Linked DNA regions of Homo sapiens: region 1 is linked to region 2. Evidence: promoter capture Hi-C in 16 types of primary human blood cells and fetal thymus (Javierre and others, 2016). All regions are on one chromosome and are shown on one strand. Each heading gives the region's core, a stretch centred on a gene start or on the middle of the fragment in contact. The rest is flanking DNA. Distances are from core to core; before and after follow the strand shown. Region 1 has its middle 3.9 kb from the start of TMEM185B. Region 2 holds the start of CLASP1-AS1 (CLASP1 antisense RNA 1).

What was found. The method cuts DNA at HindIII sites, captures the fragments that hold promoters and counts their contacts. A CHiCAGO score of 5 or more calls a contact.
Region 1: a contact is called between a fragment that was not itself captured here and the fragment with the promoter of CLASP1-AS1 in region 2, in 1 of 17 cell types (activated CD4 T cells). The highest score is 5.4, in activated CD4 T cells.

What each region holds. Positions count from the first base shown.
Region 1 is chr2:120,224,201-120,230,347 of GRCh38, forward strand. No RefSeq gene overlaps it. Among named protein-coding and RNA genes, the nearest start is that of TMEM185B, 3.9 kb to the left of the region's middle. RefSeq lists an enhancer at 1-156. The HindIII fragment of the contact is 7,669 bases long and covers 1-6,147 here.
Region 2 is chr2:121,528,013-121,533,353 of GRCh38, forward strand. It overlaps CLASP1-AS1 (CLASP1 antisense RNA 1), which reads left to right and starts at 2,156. Exons shown (of 2, transcript XR_001739683.2): 1 at 2,156-2,763; 2 at 4,366-5,341. CLASP1 (cytoplasmic linker associated protein 1) reads right to left here. Exons shown (of 41, transcript NM_001395891.1): 3 at 2,235-2,313; 4 at 665-768. It overlaps RNU4ATAC (RNA, U4atac small nuclear), which reads left to right and starts at 2,868; the gene lies at 2,868-2,997. RefSeq lists a silencer at 2,026-2,225 and an enhancer at 2,416-2,545. The HindIII fragment of the contact is 3,511 bases long and covers 1,422-4,932 here.

The sequences.
Region 1 (6,147 bases), core at 1,206-3,705, 1.3 Mb before region 2:
AATTCACCTCTTTCTCTCTGGGCCTCAGTTTCCTGGTCTATGAAGTTGGGGGACAGACCTGGGTGGTGTCTAAGGGCAAGGCTGCAGCGGGTCTGTGATTTGGAGCACCCCTTTCGCCCTCTGGCCATCTGGGCAGACCCTGGAGGATTTCTGTCTTCCCCGCTGTCCCACTGCTCAGCAGAGCCCTGGCTGCCCTCACCAGTCTCTCCTAGTCCTCTTTTCCTGAAGTGGCTGTGGGATGTTGTCACGCAGGTCCTGGGCTCTGAAGTGGGACAGGCCATCAGAGGAACGCATGGCCTGTCAGGGCCTCCGCGGAGTGGCCCTCCCGCACCCTCACAGCACTGCCCCAGGCGGGCATGAGCAGGGTGTCCAGGTGTCGGGCGGACAGTCCCAGCCCCCGAGGCGCTCTCCACAACTTCACTTCAGCCACAGGCAATCTGTGGCCCTGGGGAAGGGAGTCCAGCTGAGTGAGCTTCACCAGTCCTCAGGCTCAGCCCTTAAGGCTGACTTCATAGATGTGTCTTCAGGGCCTCTTGTTTCTGGAGAGCCTTATCTCCCTCCATTCCTCCCCTAAACAGAGTTGCTCCAATCTGTCTGTTTTACACATTGGTCTTTTTTGTACTCTTTTCTCCCAAGAAGGATTTGTCAACTAAAAATTTGTAAAAGTGGAAAACCCCCTCACCAATCCAACCTCTTCATCTGTGAAATGGGCTTGGAAAAGCACACAGGATTGTTTTGAGGATTAGATGAATCAATACATGGAACTTTGCACTTTGCATTTAGAGACCTGCAAGTAATTGATTTGACCCCACTAGGAAAGCAGAGCCCGTGGAGGGGAGGCGCTGCCAGGAGCGCCCCCACCCTCCGGGAGCTGGTGGCAGAGTCAGGTCCTCTGGACCCTGCGAGAACAGTCAGAAGTCCTTCCCAATCACCTATGTAGTCAGATGAACTCAGGGCCTCTGCTGCCATCTTTGTGGCAAAGACAGAGCTCGGAGCTTATTTTCCCACCTTGAGCTCCTCATTCAGAACAAGTGCACCCTCTCCATCCAAGAAGCGGGTATCAAGGTGTCCTGTCACAGTGCAACAGTGGCTCTGCTGCACAGCTCCTGAGGGAGGGCAGACCCAGCTTCCAGGCTTGTGCCACAGGGTGAGGGATGCTGTCTGCCATCTGTCCCCAGCTGGCTTCCTTTGGCCTGCAGGCCTTGACCCCTCCCCCATCATGCCCTGGGCATCAGACACCCCTCCTTCACTGTTTTCCCTGATGCGGCCAGTCTCTCAGACACCCGCCTTTGTCTTTTATTTACCTGTAAAGCTAACATGGATTGTTTGCTATGTGCCAGGTGCTGGCGGCATAGCAGTCCCCAAGGCTGGTACACAAACCAAAGTGTGAATTCATTCACTTACAGGTGGTGTGTGTGGATGTGGTGTTCCAGGCCACCGGCACGGGCTGCTATCCCCCAGTCAGGGTGTGCGGGGGCACATGGCCCCAGAGGGCAGGGGCTGACATGGTTTGAAGGTCACTGTCCTAACGGTTGGGGAAGTCCTGGGATGTGTCCTAACCCCAGCCTCTTTCCCCTGCTTGGCATCCTCAGTCCCAACTTTCCTGTCTGAACTGTAAGGCTCTCCTGAGCTGATCCCGGCACACCTGGTGGCCAGGTCCCTTATGGTCCATGTACCAGCCCAGCCAGTCTGCTGCTTCCCCCTGAGTGTGGCCCACCCCGACATGGCCTCTGTCTCCTTCCTGGGCACCAAGACCCACGACAGGGCTTCAAGCCCTGAGAAACCTCGACCCCTGGTGGACCAGTGACCCTTCTCTCACCTCCCACAGCATCTGGGTGCCAGAGGTGGGGTAGGGGCAGGCGGGGACCTTGTTCCTATCCTGGGACTCATTTCCCTGGGTGTTGTCTGTTTGGCCTTCTGTCCTTTCATGAGATTTGAGCTCCAGACACCCAGCTAGCACTTATATCGTAGCAAATGTTTGAGAGACGTTGGCTGAATGAGTGAAGGAATGCATTTAACACTACTCATGACTGCGATGCTCCTGTCCCAGAGGAGATGCTCCTGTGGCCAGCGTGGCACCGATAGTGGGACCTGTGTCCTTTCATCACCAGCATCCTAGGCCCTGTTCCCTCCACTCTCCAGCCCAGGTGATCTTTCTTCCTCGGTAACCAATTGCCACAGGTGTATCAGTTTAAAGCAGCAGTCAGTTACTGTCCGCCATGAACTGAGAGTCAGAAGTCAGCATCATATGCCCAGCCAGTGCTCCGCTTGAGTCACAAGGCCAAGATCTCGGTGTGGGCACTCCGGCAGTGAACCTGCATTCGAGTTCTGTGTTGGCAGGATGCAGTTCCATCGAGTTGTGGGACTGAGGTTCCTGTTGCCTTGCCAGCCATGGGCCTCGGGGTTCATTCTCAGCCCCTTGTATTTCCTGACTTGTGGCCTCCTTCAAAGCCACCCGTGGTGGGTTAAGTCCTTATGTCTGGAGTCTCTCTTCTGCCTTCCTTGTTTTGAGGGCTTCTGTGATTACTTTGGGTTACTCAGCTAACCCAGGATCACCTCTCTATTTTAAGGTCAGCCTGTTAGTAACCCCAATTCCATCTGCAAATTCCTTAGAATTCTGCTCCGTACCAGCGGTCAGGCCCAGCTCGGCTCTTCCTGCCCCACAACAGCCACTGCTTAGCAAGAGCTGAGCTGGGTTTCCAGGGAGAGCGAACTCTTGCCTGGCACCCTCCACAGCAGACCAGGGTGACAGTGACACCTGGGCATGGTCCCAGTCAGAGCAGCTGGAAGCTGGTGGGAGTTAAGTTTTCCCTGTAGCCCTCTGGCTGCAGGACATGGGATGCCTTTGCTGAATGTCCTCTGAGGGGCTGGCTTGGGACAGGGGGATGACCTGCGCAGAAAGCCCAGGGAAAATTTCCCTTTTGGCCGGATTTGTGGATTTGCTCATATCAACTTCTTCACAAGGAATCCACAGCCCACCTGGCCCTTGTGCCAGCCTCATTGCCCACCATTACCCCTTGGCCCCAGTCTCTAAATGAAGAGCACGCTGTCACCTCTACAATAGCCTCCTCCCATCTCCCTGCCCCCCCCCACTGCCAGCACACACATACCAGTGCAGTAGTATGCCCGTGGGCATGGACTTGAGTCACCCCAGCCCAGGTGCGAGTCCAGACTCTGTGAACTTGACAGATGACTTAGTTTCCAGCCCCGATCTGTGAAATGGAGATAACCTCCCAAAACTGTGACAGCAAAAGGAAACAATGTAGGAAACCTACAATGCCTCCATTATTTCCCCCCAGTGGTGGCTGTTAACTGCCTCTCAGCAGCAGATTGTGTGTCCCCTCCCTCGGGTCCCACAGGGTATCATCCTGTTTGCTCATCTGACTCTCTGGACTCCCTGTGACTTTCTCAAGGACAGGGACCCATCTCTTATCTCTGTTAGCAGTTTCCAGCACAGGCTCGTACATGGTAAGTGAATCTGGAAAGTGCATGCGGGCAGGAAGACAGGAGCTGATGTGACATCTCCTGTGGGCTGAGCAGCGAGCACGGGAACCTTCCTGAGACAAAGCAGCTTGTCTGAAGCTCACAGGTCCCAGTGTTACAGGGAGGTGCTGACAGTTCCCAGTGTTACAGGGAGGTGCTGCTGGGCTCGCATGAGGACCTCCTGGAGCGTGACAGCCCCTCACGCTCGCACGTGGCTTAATATTTCAAAGCACGATATCATCTGGAGCTGACTTCAGAGACAGAGGTGGCAAAGCACTAACCTCATTTGACAGATGGGGAAACAGGCCCAAGACCCACAACCATGGTTCTCTGCTAACTCTGCAGCTGCATACTTTCCACAGGGCCCTGCTGTTGGCCAGGTGGGCGTCCCTGCCCTGTTTATCAGCTCAGTCCAGTGAGAATGGCTCCCTGAAGAGCCAGACTCTGGCTGGGACCCCTTGAGACTTAGGCTCCTGTTTTAGCAGCTTTTTCCTTCCTTAACCCGTGTATTCATTTAACAAATACATATCAAGCATCTTCCCTGTGCCCCAGGTCCTTGTCCTGGATACACATGTAGCAATGAACTCTTCAGGTGGCTTCTCCTGTGCTGGTCCCTTCTCAGTTCAGGTGTCACCTCCTTCAGGGTCACCTCCTTGACTACCCCACCCAAAGTCATTCTCTCACTTGCGTCTCCTTATTTCTCCTTTTTTTATATGGTCACTTTAGAAAAAGCTGGAAAACGCAGACTCGTTTAAAGAAAGAAAATGCTGTAGTCTTAGCACCTACAGAAGATCACTGTGAACATTTTACTGTGTTTTTCCTTCCAGTCGGTCTACTCGGCAAAGAGATGTCATCCTCCACATACCCATTTGATTCTGCTTTTTTACTTATGGTTAATTCTAAAACTCACTTCACATTTTAACGTCTCTGGATCTTGCACTGTACAGTGGCTGATGTTTTACAGGCACTGTCAGCTGGTGTTAACATTCAGTTCTTTCTAGAGGTGGTTGTATTTGTTTCTGCCAGTCACCTGGGGGCACTGCCAACTTGACATAACCTTAAACTTAAATTCAGTTACAGCATTTGCTTGAGGTGTTTCCAGACCATATGTTTGTGCAAATTCAGACTCAAACCAGCATGAGTACTGGCTTGTGCACGTCCTCAGGGGCAGTTTTGTTCCCTCCCTGCATCCGGGTCCATGGCTGGGACACTGGCTCTTTCTGCCTGACGAGGCTGTTTATCATTCTCCTCCCACCAAAGAAATAGCCCTTTAGGATCCCAGCTTTACTTAGACGTCCCTTATTAAATAACCATTCTGGGTATTTTTTTCTTCCTTAAAGGTACGTGAAATGGTGGTGTGTTCTCTAATCAACAGTGTCTTAAATGTGATGAAATGCCATAGATAGAAACACTTCTCAGATTTCCATAAACATGTGAGCATGTTTTCAGTGGCCCCACAATATTACATTAAGGGTAGTGCAATACTTTACTCACCCATTGCATTGTGTATTTGAGTTAGTTTCATTCTTTTATGAAATGAAGGGACTGCGCTCTATCTTACGGCTTCTTTGCATCCAGATTGTTTTTAAGGGTAGATTCTCAGACACAGACATGCCATGGTGAAGGAATGAATACAGTAGTCCCCCCTTATCTGAGGTTTATCTTTCCAAGTTTTCATTTACCTGCAGTACACCGAGGTTTGAAAATATTAAATGGAAAATTCCAGAAATAACTCCTAAATTTTAAATGACACTCTGTTCTGAGTAGCGTGACAAAATCTTGCTCCATCTAGCCTGGGACGTGACCCCTCTCTTTGTCCAGCATCTTCACACCGGGCGTGCTCCCTGGGCGATCACATCAGCTGCCGCCAGATCACTGTCCCTCTGTTCAGGTCACCCGTGTTTGACTTAATAATGGCTCCAAAGCACAAGAGTACTGTGCCTAATTTACAAATTAAACTCTATCGTAGGTGTGTATGCACAGGGAAATACATAGTGTGTATAGGGGTTTGGTACTATCTGCGGCTTTGGGCATCTACTGGGGGTCTTGGAACATATCCCCTATGGATAAGGGGGGACAACTTCATTCTAAAGACCCTTGACACATAAAGCCTAGTGTGTCTTTTTTTTTCCTTTTTTTTTTTTTTTTTTTTTTTAGATGGAGTCACTCTGTCACCCAGGCTGGAGTGCAGTGGACTGATCTCGGCTCACTGCAATCTCCACTTCCTGAGTTCAAGCAATTCTCCTGCCTCAGCCTCCTGAGTAGCTGGGTGGTACAGGTGCACCACTATGCCTAGCTAATTTTTGTATTTTTAGTAGAGATGGGGTTTCACCATCTTAGCCAGGTTGGTCTCAAACTCCTGACCTCAGGTCATCTGTCAGCCTTGGCCTCCCAAAGTGCTGGGATTCCAGGCGTGAGCCACTGTGCCCAGCCTTTTATTCTGTTTTCTGTGTTATCTTTGAGGAAATGGAGTCAGTGCCACCCCGAGTTGTGGTGTGAGTCTGCTTGTATTGATAGCAGCTGGCAGAGCTTATTTAGAAAACTCCACAGGGTTGAAGAATTAAAGAGGCTGAAATCAAAGGTAGACTCAAGTATAGGGCTGTATAATATTAAAAGTCAACTAAAAACAGGGCTAGTGTTGACATGTTTGTGAGTGTGCAAATG
Region 2 (5,341 bases), core at 906-3,405:
TTTAATCCTCTCGAGAGCATACTGGAAAATGATGACATCTATCATGTTATCAAGTATATCAAATTACAATTTTTAAAACACATTCATTTACATAATTGCATTTAATTCTCCCAAGAACCCTGAAAGAGAGGTATAACTGTCCTCATTTTATGGGTGAGGAAAGCAAGGCCAAAGGAGCTAGTGAGTTGCCAAAGATCACACACTCACACTGGCCTCTGTTTTTTCTGATCACCCCCCAATAAAGGACAGTAGAAGCTGGGAAAGCAGGGCTGTTTTGGTCCATCCCAGCAGCCCCAATTCACCGGAAGACAGGGGCCAGGGCTCCAGCCAGGCCTCCTGACTCCCCAGACACCACAGCTCCCTCTTTTCAGAGAATTGGAGAGTCGGTTACATAAATGAGCTGAAGAGTCTAATGGATTAAAACTAAGTATATTAGATTCAATACCCCCATGTTAAATCCACTAATTTACTCATCTCATAGTTTTGTGACTTATTTAAATATCTTGCATGGGGAAACAGATTGAATGCTGTGAAAATTTTTATCTGTAATACATCAGCTTAAGTCTATGGAGTCACACCATTTGTGCAAGTACACACACACACCCTCGCACGTGCATGCACGCGCACTGGCCAGCTGACCTCAAAACACATCTCTTGCCCCTACCTGGGGATTAGCAGCTTGATCCATGATCTTTAGCAGCAGAGTTTGGTCCTGCTCCCTCACAGAGTCTTTAGCATCTCCTAGTCTGTCTATTAGACTTGGCAGCACTGAAAATCAAAATGGAAACTGATCAAATGAAACCCTATTTGGGGGTCTGTGGTCACCAAGTATTCCTATCTCAATTATGTGGGAAGACAAACCCCTGACCTAAATGATGTATCTCATTCTAAAACCACTCATCTTTGCTCACAGCTCTACTCTCCTTGCTGAAGTCCATGAAAGTCACCAAAAGAGTCTGCAAAATCCTTTGCATGGACAGATACACTATTTGTCTTCCTCCTTACCCCACGTTCCTCCAGCCAGTTCCCAACGTATTTGTAAGCTGATAAAAATGGAAGACCTTGAGAGGAAGAGTCAACAGAAAGGAAAATTTAGGTAAAACACAAGGAGAGGGGCTCCAGTATATGTGTTTGGGGGTGGAAGGAGTGGGCACTTATGAATAAATCTTAAGTTTCATCACTATTGTGTATTTTTAGTTTTACATCACGCCCATACACACATGAGACAGAGCCCAGCTCTCCATCTTCCCCGACATACCCAGGGTGGACCCTCCCACCAGTGGTCCAAGTGCACCTGTAGACCAGAGATCAGCTTATTTTAAGAGTTTGTAAACCTCTATTACATGAGATATCCCTGAATAATTCAGCTAATTTAGGAGGAAAATGGAACACTATTAAAATATCAAATGTCTAAAAGTAAAAGCTTTTTTTAAATTTGTAAACAGTCGGTGCTCATGACCTTTTCAGAAGGAGCATATTGGTCGGAAAGTTAACAGTAAAGAATACATGTGTACCAACGTAAAACAGAGAAATTCCATAAGGAAATGGTTGCATAGAGATGCTTAGTGTTTATACTACCCCCATGAAACACCGGAGGTCAGGAATTTAGAGGTATTTAAATCTATGAAATCTGTGGGTTTTGTTTCATTTTGCTGACATACTGTTTTCCCTTCAAAATAAGAGTGAACATTTACTATACATTTGTAATGACATTTACAATCAAGGTGAAAATAGTCATGCCAACCATAATCATCTGGAGAAAAATACAACTGGCTTGGTTTTATAGGATTTCTCAAGGAAAACTGCCTCTCATTAAAGGGGACCGGGGTCAGGGTAAAATATGACTTGGTTGGCACTAAAGAGTGACAGCTAATTTAGCATAAGAAATAAAAATGGCACTAATATTTCATATTAGAACACGTATTACTAAGTTCCGTGTGAGAACACAGTGAAGCCAGTACAAAGGTATGGGGGAGGGTAAGGGCGCCCGCAGGCCCAGAGGCCAGGGGAGTCCAGCTGGAAGGGAAGGCAGCGGGGCGGCCGACCCAGGCTGCGAGTGCTTAGGGGGGCTGCGGGGGAGGGCGGGGACTGGCTGTTTGGGAGGAGCGGAAGGGAGGGAGAGGGGGCTGGAGGGGAGGCAGGGTGGCTGCCGGGAGGGTTTGGGAGCCGGGGAGGCCGAGGGAAGGCTGGGGGTCTGAAGGGGCCGGGTCCGCTCCACAAGTGCCGCAGCTCACCTGTGCCGATCTGCGCCTTGAACCGATCCTGCAGCCGGGTCACCAGGGCGGACAGGATGTCCATGCCCAGCAGAACCACCTGCAGCGGGAAACACCGGGAGCCTGTTAGCAGCCGGCCTGCGGGGCAGCGCTCCCGCCCACCCGCTCCGGGGAGGCCTAGACATTTCCGGCCCAGACGCAGTCCGAGAGTCCAGACGCATGCCGACTGGAGGACCAAAGAGATTAGCACGAAGAAGGATGATCTTCCACAAAAAGAGCTATGTACAGCTATAATGGAAAATACTCGGTGAGGAGAAACGAAATAAAAGGCAATACAGCGTAGCCAAACCCGGGTTAGCTGCGGGTGGAGTTCAAGAGCGCGCCGCGGTCCCGCCCCCGCCAGCCCCGCCCCGGCGAGAAAAGCGTATGCAAATTTTCGAGCGGCCGACGCGCGGTCTTCTGGGTAAAACCGAGCCGCCGCTTTTGCGACCCTTCGGGAGCCTCAGAAAACAAAGAATTGGGGTGTCGTCGAAAGCTGTGGAGGCTGGAGGTAAGCTAGCTACCAGACCGACTAGGGCGAGGCTCACGAATTAATTACCACAACCCTACCAGGTATTGGCGCTTCCTGCTTGCAGCCCAGGGACTTTCTATTATAACCATCCTTTTCTTGGGGTTGCGCTACTGTCCAATGAGCGCATAGTGAGGGCAGTACTGCTAACGCCTGAACAACACACCCGCATCAACTAGAGCTTTTGCTTTATTTTGGTGCAATTTTTGGAAAAATGAAAACCTGTTTTCATAGACTTATCAGTTCAAACAGCAGTAATTCGTAAATAAACTAGTACTTTGTGGTTAAACCAGTAGAGGGTGCACAAGACGCGTGGTTTTAGTGTCGCAAGTAAAGTTCTTTCAGTTTTTGCGGTGATTAAACGGGAAGGATTTCAACAGAACTTCACCCCTTTAACTTTACGCCGATCATCAACTGTTCTGTAACTTCCTTATGCTGAGTCAGCCCAGTAGTCTAGGTCAAGTTTCAATAGGAGACGAAGTTTCAGTAGGTCTTTGCACCTCACATAAAATGTAATCCAGGTCGGGCGCGGTGGCTCACGCCTGCAATCCCAGCACTTTGGGAGGCCGAGGGGGGCGGATCACGAGGTCAGGAGATCGAGACCATCCTGGCTAACACAGTGAAACTCCGTCTCTCCTAAAAATACAAAAAATTAGCCGGGCGAGGTGGCCGGCGCCTGTAGTCCCAGCTGCTCGGGAGGCTGAGGCAGGAGAATGGCGTGAATCCGGGGGGGTGGAGCCTGCAGTGAGCAGAGATCGCGCCACTGCACTCCAGCCTGGGCGACAGCGAGACTCCATCTCAAAAAAAAAAAAAAAATAGTAATCCCAGCACTTGGGGAGGCCGAGGCGGGCGGATCAGGAGCTCAGGAGATAGAGACCATCCTGGCCAACATGGTGAAACCCCGTCTCTACTAAAAATACAAAAATTAGCTGGGCGTGGCGGCGCATGCCTGTAGTCCCAGCTACTTGGGAGGCTGAGGCAGGAGAATCGCTTGAACCTGGGAGGCGGAGGTTGCAATGAGCCAACATCGGGCCACTGCACTCCAGCCTGGCGACAGAGCAAGACTCGGTCTCAAAAAAAAAAAGAAAAAGAAATGTGAAATAGTGAGCTTTTTGTGGAATGGTCCAATAGTCAGATTAAACCCTTCCTCCGTATGAAGCAGTTTTGCACTGTGAGACTTCATTAAACATGCTTCCAACACAAAGCCGGGCACTGCCCAATGTTCACACAACAACCAAACAGGACGGGGCAACAGTTAGGATTTCTTGTATACAGCCTGTGCCTGCCTGCCTCTGGCGGCTGATAAAAGCAAAAACTGCAGACTTTTCTATTCAGCTTTGAAATCTACTGCTTCAAAACTGAAGGAATCTAAATTGGCCCAATAATCCCCACAATACATAAAATGTTCTTGCAAGAAACTGGCTACTTGACAATATTGAAGAAAATAATTTTTAAAACTTTTATAAAGAGAACAATTTGTAAACAGATTTTTTAAATAATATAATAATGGTATAAACACTTTAAAATAATGACTCTACTTTCCAGCTAAAAGGGATTAGGTTTCACACTATGACTTCCTTCCAGAGTACAGTATGAAGTGGAGGAGTAACTATCCTGCGGAGAAAACTGACAGACGCAACCTCAGCCAGATGGTGGAGGTCAACATCAAGTACACGTCATATGATGTCATGAAAACGGCATTTTGCCTGTGACAGTCCTTCCCAAGACCCTTAAGCTCAGTCTAAACATGAGGAAAACATCAGAGAAATTCCAATAGAGGGGCATCCTACAAAACACCTGACCAGTACCCCTCAAAACTGTCCAGGTCATCAAAAACAAGAACTCTGAGAAACTGTCACAGCAACAGGAGCCAAGGGAAACATAACAACTAAAGGTAATGAGGTATCCTGGAAAAGAGTGTGCAACAGAAAGATGACATTTTTCCTTAGGTAGAAACTAAGGAAATATGAATAAAGCATGAACTCTAGTTAATAATAATACATCAATACTGGCTCATTAATTGTAATAAACCACATTAATGTTAGATATAATAATGAGATATTTGTAATTTTTCTGTAAAAAAGTTTATTTTTTAAAAAGAACAGCCCATCACTTAAGTGAGTTATTTAGCTTTTGTCTGGTGAAATCTTAAGCTTATCTGCACAGTTGCATTACTGGTTGCAGGTAGGGGTGTTATTCATGACAGAAACATCCCTTCATACATCGTTCAAGGCTAAGGTAAAGAGGACTATTGTTTATTTGGGGGAAAGCTGACGTCAGCTTTTCCAGGATGGCAGTTTACTTGGTAGGTCTGAGCAGAGAAGGCCTCGCTAAGCCCCGGACAGTCAAGTTTCAATGCGTTGCCTAGAGGAACTGGGGAGCCTGGAAACTCCCGAAGAAGACTGAGTGGGTAGATGCACCTGAGCCCCAGAGAAATAGGACAGGAGAGGTCCAGGGTGTCAGCCAGGAGGACAGAAGGCAGTTCCAGGCACTTTCACAGCTCAGGCCCTTCTCCTGGGTTTCCATTTCCCTACTGAAGAAAGGGATACATGAAAAAGTC